Regions from separate parts of the Homo sapiens genome. Here all the other regions are linked to region 3. The links are contacts of gene promoters, found by promoter capture Hi-C in human tissues and cell types (Jung and others, 2019). All regions are on one chromosome and are shown on one strand. Each heading gives the region's core, a stretch centred on a gene start or on the middle of the fragment in contact. The rest is flanking DNA. Distances are from core to core; before and after follow the strand shown.

The links. The method cuts DNA at HindIII sites, captures the fragments that hold promoters and counts their contacts. A contact is called where the count stands out against the background at its distance.
Region 1: a fragment that was not itself captured here is called in contact with the fragment with the promoter of PLLP in region 3 in 5 of the 25 tissues and cell types used here (dorsolateral prefrontal cortex, hippocampus, mesenchymal stem cells and 2 more).
Region 2: a fragment that was not itself captured here is called in contact with the fragment with the promoter of PLLP in region 3 in 1 of the 25 tissues and cell types used here (bladder).

The regions. Positions count from the first base shown.
Region 1 is chr16:57,453,054-57,455,823 of GRCh38, reverse strand. The region is part of intron 3 of COQ9 (coenzyme Q9); the gene reads right to left. Among named protein-coding and RNA genes, the nearest start is that of COQ9, 7.0 kb to the right of the region's middle. The HindIII fragment of the contact is 7,285 bases long and covers 1-2,770 here.
Region 2 is chr16:57,500,394-57,503,714 of GRCh38, reverse strand. No RefSeq gene overlaps it. Among named protein-coding and RNA genes, the nearest start is that of DOK4, 16 kb to the right of the region's middle. The HindIII fragment of the contact is 9,526 bases long and covers 1-3,321 here.
Region 3 is chr16:57,282,984-57,286,412 of GRCh38, reverse strand. PLLP (plasmolipin) reads left to right here and starts at 1,741. Exons shown (of 4, transcript NM_015993.3): 1 at 1,741-2,007. The coding sequence starts at 1,873. RefSeq lists a silencer at 1,548-1,957 and an enhancer at 2,002-2,663. The HindIII fragment of the contact is 17,750 bases long and covers 1-3,429 here.

The DNA.
Region 1 (2,770 bases), core at 271-2,770, 170 kb before region 3:
TTACACATATGAGCCTGGTCCACTCTTGTTTCTGTACTCTTCCCATTTGTGTTCAATCATGTCCAAACTTCCATCTGTTTCTCCTGCTTGGTGCACCCTAGTTCTACCCCTCGCAGCCAAACGCCTCGCCACTTCCTCGCCTTCTATGCACACCTCGATCCACTCCAGTTGATTTCTGATCCAGTTCTCCACCCAAACGGTTGTTGCCCCAGTAACCAATGTCTAGCTGCTTAATCCACACTCTCCTGCTTTGCCTCCAACATCAGGATGCTCTGACTTAGACTTTGACGGCCCATCCTATTCTACTCTCCCCTTAAATGTCCGCGTTCCTTGAGAGTCTGGACTCCCCTCTCATATGACATTATATTCTTGCCCTGGACAATCTCACTGACTTCCATAATTATTTTATATATATATATATATATAAAATCAGCGTGCATATATATACTGTATATATATATATATATGCCCAAATGTGTATCTCTAGTCCAGCTGTTTCCTCCAGTTCCTGACCTGTATGCTTGATGCCTCCACTGGTTGACTCAAAAACTCCTCATACTCAACAAGGATCAAGACTGTACCCTTCCCCAAAGCTGGTCCTCTTCCAATGGCCTTCACCTTAGAAAACACCACCATTGGGTACCCACACATGCAAACTTGCAACTCTGGTGCCATCCTGTCACTCTCTCCCATGTCCAAGCTATTCCTGAACTTACCCACTGCCATTACTCTAAGCCAGACCACCTCATCTCTCCTGTATGTCTGGCAGCAGCCCCCAATGAGTCTCTCTCTGCCTCCAATCCACTTTTCATCTGGCAGCCAAAATGAGCATTTTGAAATGCCAAATTTAATCCAATATCTTCAATTGTTCTTAGAAGAAAAGCTTGACTCCTCATCATGACCTTTAGGACCTTGCCTGATTTGACCTCGACTGACCTTTCCAGCCTTGCTCATCTCAAATCTCTCTTCCTGCACTCTCTGCATGGTGGTTCTCTGTGGTTCTTCTAACGTACCATCCTTCTTTTTCTTTCCACCTTGCCTGTGCAGTTTCTGTATTTGGACTTGTCCATCTCCTACCCACAAAGTCAGGTAAAGCCTATTCATTCTTCAATTCTCAGCTCAAAAGCCTTTCCTGACCACCCTGTTACCCACCTCATATATGGTTTCAGACAAGGTCTCACTCTGTTGCCCAGGCTGGAGTGCAATGGCATCATTATGGCTCACTGCAGCCTTGACCTACCAGGCTCAAGAGATCCTCCCACCCCAGCCTCCCAGGTAGCTGGGACCACAGGCAAGCACCACCATGCCTGGCTAATTTTTGTATTTTTTGTAGAGATGGGGTCTCTCCCTAGGTTGCCCAGACTGGTCCCAAACTGCTGGGCTCAAGCAATCCCTCTGCCTTGGCCTCCCAAAGTGCTGGGATTATAGGCATGCGCGACTGTGCCCAGCCCTCCAACCCTTTAATAGGACAAATTAGACTATTTGTCATAGTTTAACAGGCAACATGTTTTCTTTTTTTACTGATGTACTTAAAAATGGTGCTTCTTACAACCAATGGCATCTTAGAGTCAATGAAATATGGTAGTTTTGATCACAGACAATTCTTGCCAATAGGTTGCCTTTAGAACACAACTCTCAAGAACCAATTCCATGGTTCATTACTTTTATATCTACAAAATAAAGCCATTTCCACCCTATTGAGGGAAAAAAACCAGTCAATCTCGCAGCTGTGACCTGATCTAATGATCGGGTCCCTCCATTATACAGCCCAACAGCACCTTTCCTTGATAGCACTTACCACATCTTCTAAGTAAACATTTGTATATATTTTATTAATGTTGCTAGACTGGAAGCTCAACAAGGGCAGGAAGCAGATCCATCTTGACCACTTTGACCCCTGTCATGTCTCTTGGACTAGCACAGTGCCTAGGGCACATTATTTGCTCAATAAACATTTAAAGAATGAATCATATAAAGGGTTTTAATTGGAAAGATCTAGGCATAAATGTTGATAGTATGATCTTTGGTGTGATTATAGGTGTTTTCTACATTCTTTTTTATATTTGTTTGTATTGTTCAGTTTTCACAATGAGCCTACAGTGGAGTCAGAGCACCCACATTTCACTAATGAGACTTCTGTTACCAAATGTGCACTTGGGAGTGAGAGAAGACAAGGAAATAACAGTTAAATTTCAGTAAAGCAGCAACCTTGCCCATTGTCCATGGGTAGATGCCCTGCAGCAAGCCTGGGATGGAAGATGCAACTCTGTCATCCCCTCAGTCTCTTGGAGGATGGTATCTTGCTATGCTGGAGGATTCTCTACAACATGGCCTGAACATGAGCCTGCTGCCTAATCTAAAGCAGCAGTCTGTACTAATGCAGAAAATGCTATTAGAGTTTCTGGGAAAATAAGATGTGTTGGTCTCCAAAGTGGTGCCTTCTTGGGGGTTTTCAAACACCATATGTCATTAATTCTAAGATGCAGATATATTTTTCATTTTAAAAAATCAGTGTGAATCACAGAAGTGCTTTGTCATAGTTCGAAGGGCAGTATGTTTTCTTTTTTACTGATGCATTTAAAAATGATGCTTCTTACAACCAATGGCATCTTAGAGTCAATGAAACATGGGAGTTTTGATCACAGACAATTCTTGCCTAATAGATTGCCTTTAGAACACAACTCCCAAGAACCAACTCCATGGTATGTTCTTTATAACTACAAAATAAAGCCAGTTCCACCCTATTGGGGGAAAAAAACCAGTCAATCTT
Region 2 (3,321 bases), core at 89-2,588, 220 kb before region 3:
CAGGCAGCAAATCCTTGCCACGCCAGTCCCTCCCACATGCTGGGCTTGCACGGCTTTGTGGCTGCAGAGGTGTTATGCGCGCACCTGTCTGCCAGGTCACCGGCCCCATCTGCTTCTACCGCATCTATCCACTCCATCAGCCTGACAGGCAGCCTCAAGGAGGCCCCAGAGGCTCTCCGGCTACCCGGCAGTGAGCCATGGCTGGGCTGGGCTGCTCCCCGAGCTGGCCTCCCACGCTTACCTCCTCTCTGCTGCTCCACGCCTGCAAGACCTCTTTTCTGGGAGGAAGAGACTTGCCAAGAAGGCCAGCTTCACGGTTGTGCGGGCAGCCTGTGCTGTCACTTTGGGCCCTACACTTCCGAGGGCCCAGGGCTTGGTTTAATGCTCTATTGTCACCCCTCGGCAATTTATTAATAATTTGTCGGCAGGGCACATATTCTTTTTGTACTGGGCCCCAAAAATGATGTGGCCAGTCTTGCTGCCACAGGACAATGCTGCTTCAGGAAATGGCCGCAAGGTGCATCCCCAGGGTAATGCCTATACCTTTAGGCCATGGACTGTCCCTGCAGAGGGTTGACCTAATCCCCACACCTTCCGTCTTCACCTTACCCAGGTCCTCCCAGCTGCTCAGTGCAGATGCCCTTCAGGGGATGCGCAAGTTTGTGGGGAATGACTTCTCCACGCATCGCTAAGTCTCAGACCCTGGGGAGGGGACTTAAGGGTATGGCAGGGGGGTCCCCAAACCCATATGTTCAGCAAGTCTCATCTGTGGACTGAGCAAATAATGTTTCACCCAAACAATTGTGACTCTTGTCAAGTGGAAGTTTGGAGTCCTCATAGCAGAGGAGGAACAAATTAATTTGAATCATCTGGGGAATTCCTAGTAGCCTTTGGTCAACATATTGGTCTTGGAAGGGTTTTTTTTTTTTTCAGGTACTGAATATTAAAGGTAAGACAGCTTTGACCTTATGGGCATCAGAAGATTTCCTCCATCGATGCCCACCCTCAGATGGGAACAGGGCAGGCTGGCAAAATGCAGCTGAAACAGTTCACTTTGAGAAATCTCTCCTAAGGAAGTCTGTAAGCACACATCATCTGTAAGTGCAGGCGCAAATATTTAGCCACACGAGTGCTCATTGTGGCATTGTTTACAAAAGCAAAAATAGAGACAGCTAAATGGCCGCAGTCAGGTACTGGTTAAATAAATGACAGTGTGTTTCTCCAGGGGTATGTCGGAGACTGTTGGTAAAATTCACCTTTTCCTGCGAAAGAAGAGGGAGTGAGTGAAAAATCAGTTTTGGAAAAAAGCATCCAACGTGGGCTTGGTTTTCTGTCTATATCTGTGGAGGCACTGAGACCATAGTGTTCGTCTCAGGGTCATTGTTTTTCTTCCTTCTTATCCTTGAGTGTCCTGGCTTCCAGTAGCCAATCACCAAGGAGTCAGGGACACTTGCCATTCTGAAGATCTCTCAGACCTCTTCAGAGCCACCAACCCTCTCACTACTCACCACCTCTCTCCTTCGAGACTTGCTCTTGCTTCCTGTCTTGCTCCCCCAGTTCCACTAGGCCCCCTCCATATGCTCTCTAAGGACAGCCAGAGGGATTCTTTCTCAAAATATAAACTGGGGCCGGGCGCGGTGGCTCATGCCTATAATCCCAGCACTTTGGGAGGCTGAGGCAGGTGGATCACTTGAGGTCAGGAGCTCAAGACCACCCTGGCCGACATGGTGAAACCCCATCTCTACTAAAAAAATACACAAATTAGCCAGGCATGGTGGCATGCGCCTATAATCCCAGCTACTCAGGAGGCTGAGGCAGAATTGCTTGAACCCAGGAGGCAGAGGTTGCAGTGACCCAAGGTCGCGCCACGGCACTCCAGCCTGGGCGACAGAGTGATACTCCATTTAAAAAAAAAAAAAAAAAGTCAATTGGATCTTATCTCCTGCTTCGTGTAAAACCCTTGACTGGCTCCCTGTTACTCTTAAGATAGAGCTGGAACCCTGGGACTGGCCTTCAAGACCCTGTGTCTGGCCTCTCCAAGCACGCACTTCCCCTCCTCACTGCACTCAGCCACCCTGGCCTCCTCCCAAGCCCATCTCCAGGCCAGGGTCTCTTCTGCCAAGGGGCCTTTACACGTGCAGTTCCCTCTACCCAGAACACTCTCCCTCTCTTCTTCACCAAGTTAACTAATCCTTTCACTTTCACCTTAAGGGTCCCTTCCTTAGGAAGCCTTCCCAGACAAATCAGGTCTCCCTGTATCTCTGTCTTTTGTTTTTTGTGTTTAGAGATAGGGTCTCTCTCTGTTGCCCAGGGTGGAGTGCAGTAGCATGATCTTGATTCACTGCAGCCTTGACTTCCTGGGCTCAAGTGATTTTCCTGCCTCAGCCTACCAAGTAGCTGGGGCTACAAGCACATGCCACCATGCCTGGTTAGTTTTTTTATATTTCCTTGTACAGACTGGGTCTCATTATGTTGCCCAGGCTGGTCTCGAACTCACAGCCTCAAGTGATCTTCCCACCTTGACCTCCCAAAGTGTTGGCATGAGCCACTGTGCCTGGCCCCCGTATCTCTTCTAGCACCCTATAGCTGTTTCCACTCCCTCTGCCCTTCTCACAGTTGCACTTGCTGGTCACTTGCACTACACCGTGAACTCCTCAAGGCCATGGACTCTTCCTGTGGAACACTGTGTCCCCAGTGCCCAGTGCCTGGCACAGAGTAGGTGCTCAGATGTTTGCTGAGTGGATCAATGAATCAGGGAGGGAGAGGAGGCTGGCCCAAGCACTTGGCCTCCCTTCGCTGCTGCCTGTCCAGGGAGCAGCTTGTCAGACCTGCTATTAGCATCTCACGCATGTGCTCAGGAAGGCAGTCCAGGGAGAACCCTGTGCGGGGAGGTGGGGCTGGAATGATGTCCCAAGCCTCCTTCCTGTGAGCTGCTCTCTGAGCCCATCAGAAATCGCCCCTCGCCCAGCCTCCTCAGGAGGAAGCTAAAGGAGCTAGGGGGCCCCTGTCTCCTTCCTCTCCACGCCCCTCCTGGTCAGTCCACTTTGATGTGAAGGTTCCTGGGGAGGCTGGTTTGTGTCACTGTCGAGTCGGGGAGGGAGACAGGAAGAGGCCTCATCTCTTCTTTTTTTTTTTTTTTTTTTTTTTTTTGAGATAAGTTCTCACTCTGTCACCCAGGCTGAAGTGCAGTGACACAGTCATGGCTCACTGCAGCCTCGACCTCCCGGGCTCAAGTGATCCTCCCACCACAGCCTCCTGAGTAGCTGGTACCACAGGCATGCGCCACCGTGCCCAACTAATTTTTATTATTATTATTTTTTG
Region 3 (3,429 bases), core at 492-2,991:
AGTAGGCTATGATCATGCCACTGCCCTCCAGCCTGGGTGACAGAGTGGGACCTCGCCTCAAAATAAATAAAAGTAAAAAGAAAAAAATACCAATATTGTACATTTCTTTTCTTTTTTTGTTTTTGTTTTTAGATGGAGTCTGGCTCTGTCACCCAGGCTGGAGTGCAGTGGCATGATTTCAGCTCACTGCAACCTCTGCCTCCCTGGGTTCGAGTGATTCTCCTGTCTCAGCCTCCTGTGTAGCTGGGACTACAGGCACCCACCATCATGCCTGGCTAATTTTTTTGTATTTTTGTAGAGACAGGGTTTTGCCATGTTGACCAGGCTGGTCTCAAACTCATGACCTCTGGTGATCTGCCTGCCTTGGCCTCCCAAAGTGCTGGGATTATAGGCGTGAGCCACAGCGCCTGGCCCTAATATTGTATATTTCAAAATATGGTAGCTAGAAGTGGGGATTTTGAATGTTCTCACCCCAAAGAAGCCATAAATGTATGAGGTGATGGATATGCTAAGTACCTTGATTTGATTTTTTTACACAACGTACACAGGTACCAAAACATCACATGGTACCCCATATTTAGGTACAATTATAGGTTGCCGAAAAAGTAATTGCGGTTTTTGCTATACTTTTATATGCAAAAACCGTATAACTTTTGCACCAACCTAATATTACATGTCAGTTAAAAACAATTTTTTAAGTGGCTCTCTTTTTAAGTGGGTATTTGGGAAAAAAAAAATGTGGGAGCCAAGAAGGCCTTGTCTACTTCGTTTCCTGCTGTATCCACAGGGCCTGGCATGTAGTAGGTGTTCAGCAAACATTGGTTGATGAATGCATGATGACCTATCTGTGCAAACCTCTAGGCTCAAGAGGTGTGTGTGTGTGTGTAAGTATTTTAGGGTGCATGTGTGGCAATGAAACTGTATATGACCTCCCATCTTCTGAGTGACCCCTCCTCCCTCACGCTGTCAGGAGCTTTCTGGGGAATATTTCATTTATTCCCTACAACGCTCTGTGAGGCAGGTTTCCTTCGTATCTATATGACAGACGAGGAAACTGAGGCTCCGCGATCATCTAAGTTATATAAAATATGTTCAGAAGTGAAAACAGCATTAATAGGCAGAAAAGGACCTCCCCCTTCTACCGCTTACCCACCGCTTACCCAGACCCTCCCCTTCCCCGCGCTGGGTCTCCCAGGATTCTTCTTTACTTTCTTTTCTATAAAATACAGACGGGGGGAGGGGGGGCGTCTCACTGTGTTACCCAGGCTGGTCTCGAACTCTTGGCCTGAAATTATCCTTTCACCTTAGCCTCCCAAAGTGCTGCGATCAGAGGCAGGAGCCACCGCATCCAGCCTTCTCCCGGGACTCTTCAAGAGTCGCTGCGCCGGGGCCTAGGCCGAGGGTGCACAGCGCGTAGAAAGCGCCTGGGAGAGCGGTGTCCCCCGCGAGCTACCACAAGTTTATCCCTAGGCGCGGAAGCTACCACGGCCTGGGCGAGAGCCGGGAAATTCCCAGCGGGCGGCTTGCCCCGGGGGAGGCCGGCGAAGCGGTCTAGGCTGGTGCTGGCGGAGCCGATTCACGGACCCGGGGTTGTTTACTGGTCCGGGGAGTGGACGCGGCTGCCCACGAACCGGTCGCGGCTGGGGCGGCGGCGGCGAGCAAAGGGTTAAGGGGGCGGCCCCGGCGGCGGGGGCGGAGCCGGGATCTCGGCCGCACCTGGCGCCCCAGGCTCCCAGCCCCGACGCCTCCTGCAGCGCCTGGAGCCACACAGGGATCCGGAGCCTGGGGGAAAAGCGGCGCGGGAGCCGGCACCCACCGCTGGAGGGGCGGCGACGGCGGCCGTAGCGACCTCGGGAGGCAAGCGGAGCCGCCATGGCCGAGTTCCCGTCGAAAGTTAGCACGCGGACCAGCAGTCCTGCGCAGGGCGCCGAAGCCTCGGTGTCGGCGCTGCGCCCGGACCTGGGCTTCGTGCGCTCCCGCCTCGGGGCGCTCATGCTGCTGCAGCTGGTGAGAGCACGCGCGGGCCCACGGGGTTGGCCGGGGGCTCCCGGTCCGGCCAGGATGGGTGAGGGACTCCGGCGCTGCGTTCATTTTTCGCGAACCTTGCGCTCCCCACCCGGGCTCACACTGTCACCGACGCGCTGCGCGTACCCCTAGGGCGCTTCCCGCACGGACGCCCCCAAGATCGCCCTGCATCCCTCTCACCACGACACTACCCCGTGGCCGTCGCTGCGAGCGTGAGCACCCTGCACCGTGTACAGAGTGCCCACTGCCCGTGCCCCATCGTGCCCCCTCCAAGGTGGTTACCAGCGGCCACAGAAGCCCCCACCGGAGCCACAGTCACTGCGCACAACCCGCCAACCCTTCCCAGCCCTCCCTTCCCTCCTCTCTCTTTTTCACCCCTCTTTCTGCCCGGACAGTGCCCCCAGCCCTCTAGGGAACCCAGTCTGAGGCAAAGTCCACTCTCTGACCACCTTCTGTCCCGCTCCCAGCGGCTCCGGGTGGCCGCACCCATGAACATTCCTCATCTAATCTAGAGGGCACATCCGACTCCCCAACACGCACACTCAGGCACTACCCTGTGGGCGCCCGCGCGGGAGCCGGGCTCTTCTAGCTTTCTCTGGGTGACCCGCCAGGTTTCAGCCGGTTTAGCCAGCCCCACGGGACCGAGATATCGCTGGAGGGAGGGGTTTGTGGGTAGCCAGGGGCAAGACTCCTACTCTCTCCCAGACCCCTGTACAGACCCCAACTGAGGCGGACCCATGGGAACATCCTCCACTCCCACACCAGCCACAGGCCCGGATGTTAGCTTCTTCCTCTGCCACCCTTTCGTGAGGGTCTGGAAGCTGGGTGGGTGCCCTGGGTGGGTGAGGGCCTGATACATTTTCAGAGGACTCAGGTGGAATTGGAGTTGGGCCAGGACCTGTATTTCTTAGCAATCCAGCGAGTGGACATTTCCCATTGTCTCCTATTGCTGGGTGCTAGCGCTGCTGCGAGGCCCAAGCTAGAGGGCAGGGTGGTTGCTTTGGTGCCAGACCCTGGGCTGAGGTCCAGTCTCCCTTCCCTGACCTCTCCAGGTGCGGGCCCACCTCTACCTGGGTCAGTGCTATCTCATTTCAGGATTTCTCAGATCTCTGTGGGCCCCCTCCCCAACCTCTGAATCTCCTGGCGGGTTTGTTTAAAATTTAGATTATTGGACTCCACCCCCGGAAAAAAATGTGCAATCGGAATTTGAATCTCAGGAAGTACAGCCAGAAATTCATTTTTAACAGTTCTCCCAGAGTTTTTTGTTTGTTTCTCTTTTGGGGGGTGGGGGAGAAGGGGAGAAGATTCTGTCTTCTGAGGGAAGAGGTCTAGTTCCTGGAATCATTTAATTCTGCAGATGGGGAGAGCCACTGACCCCGCCACCGCTAGAATGCTCTGCTCTGG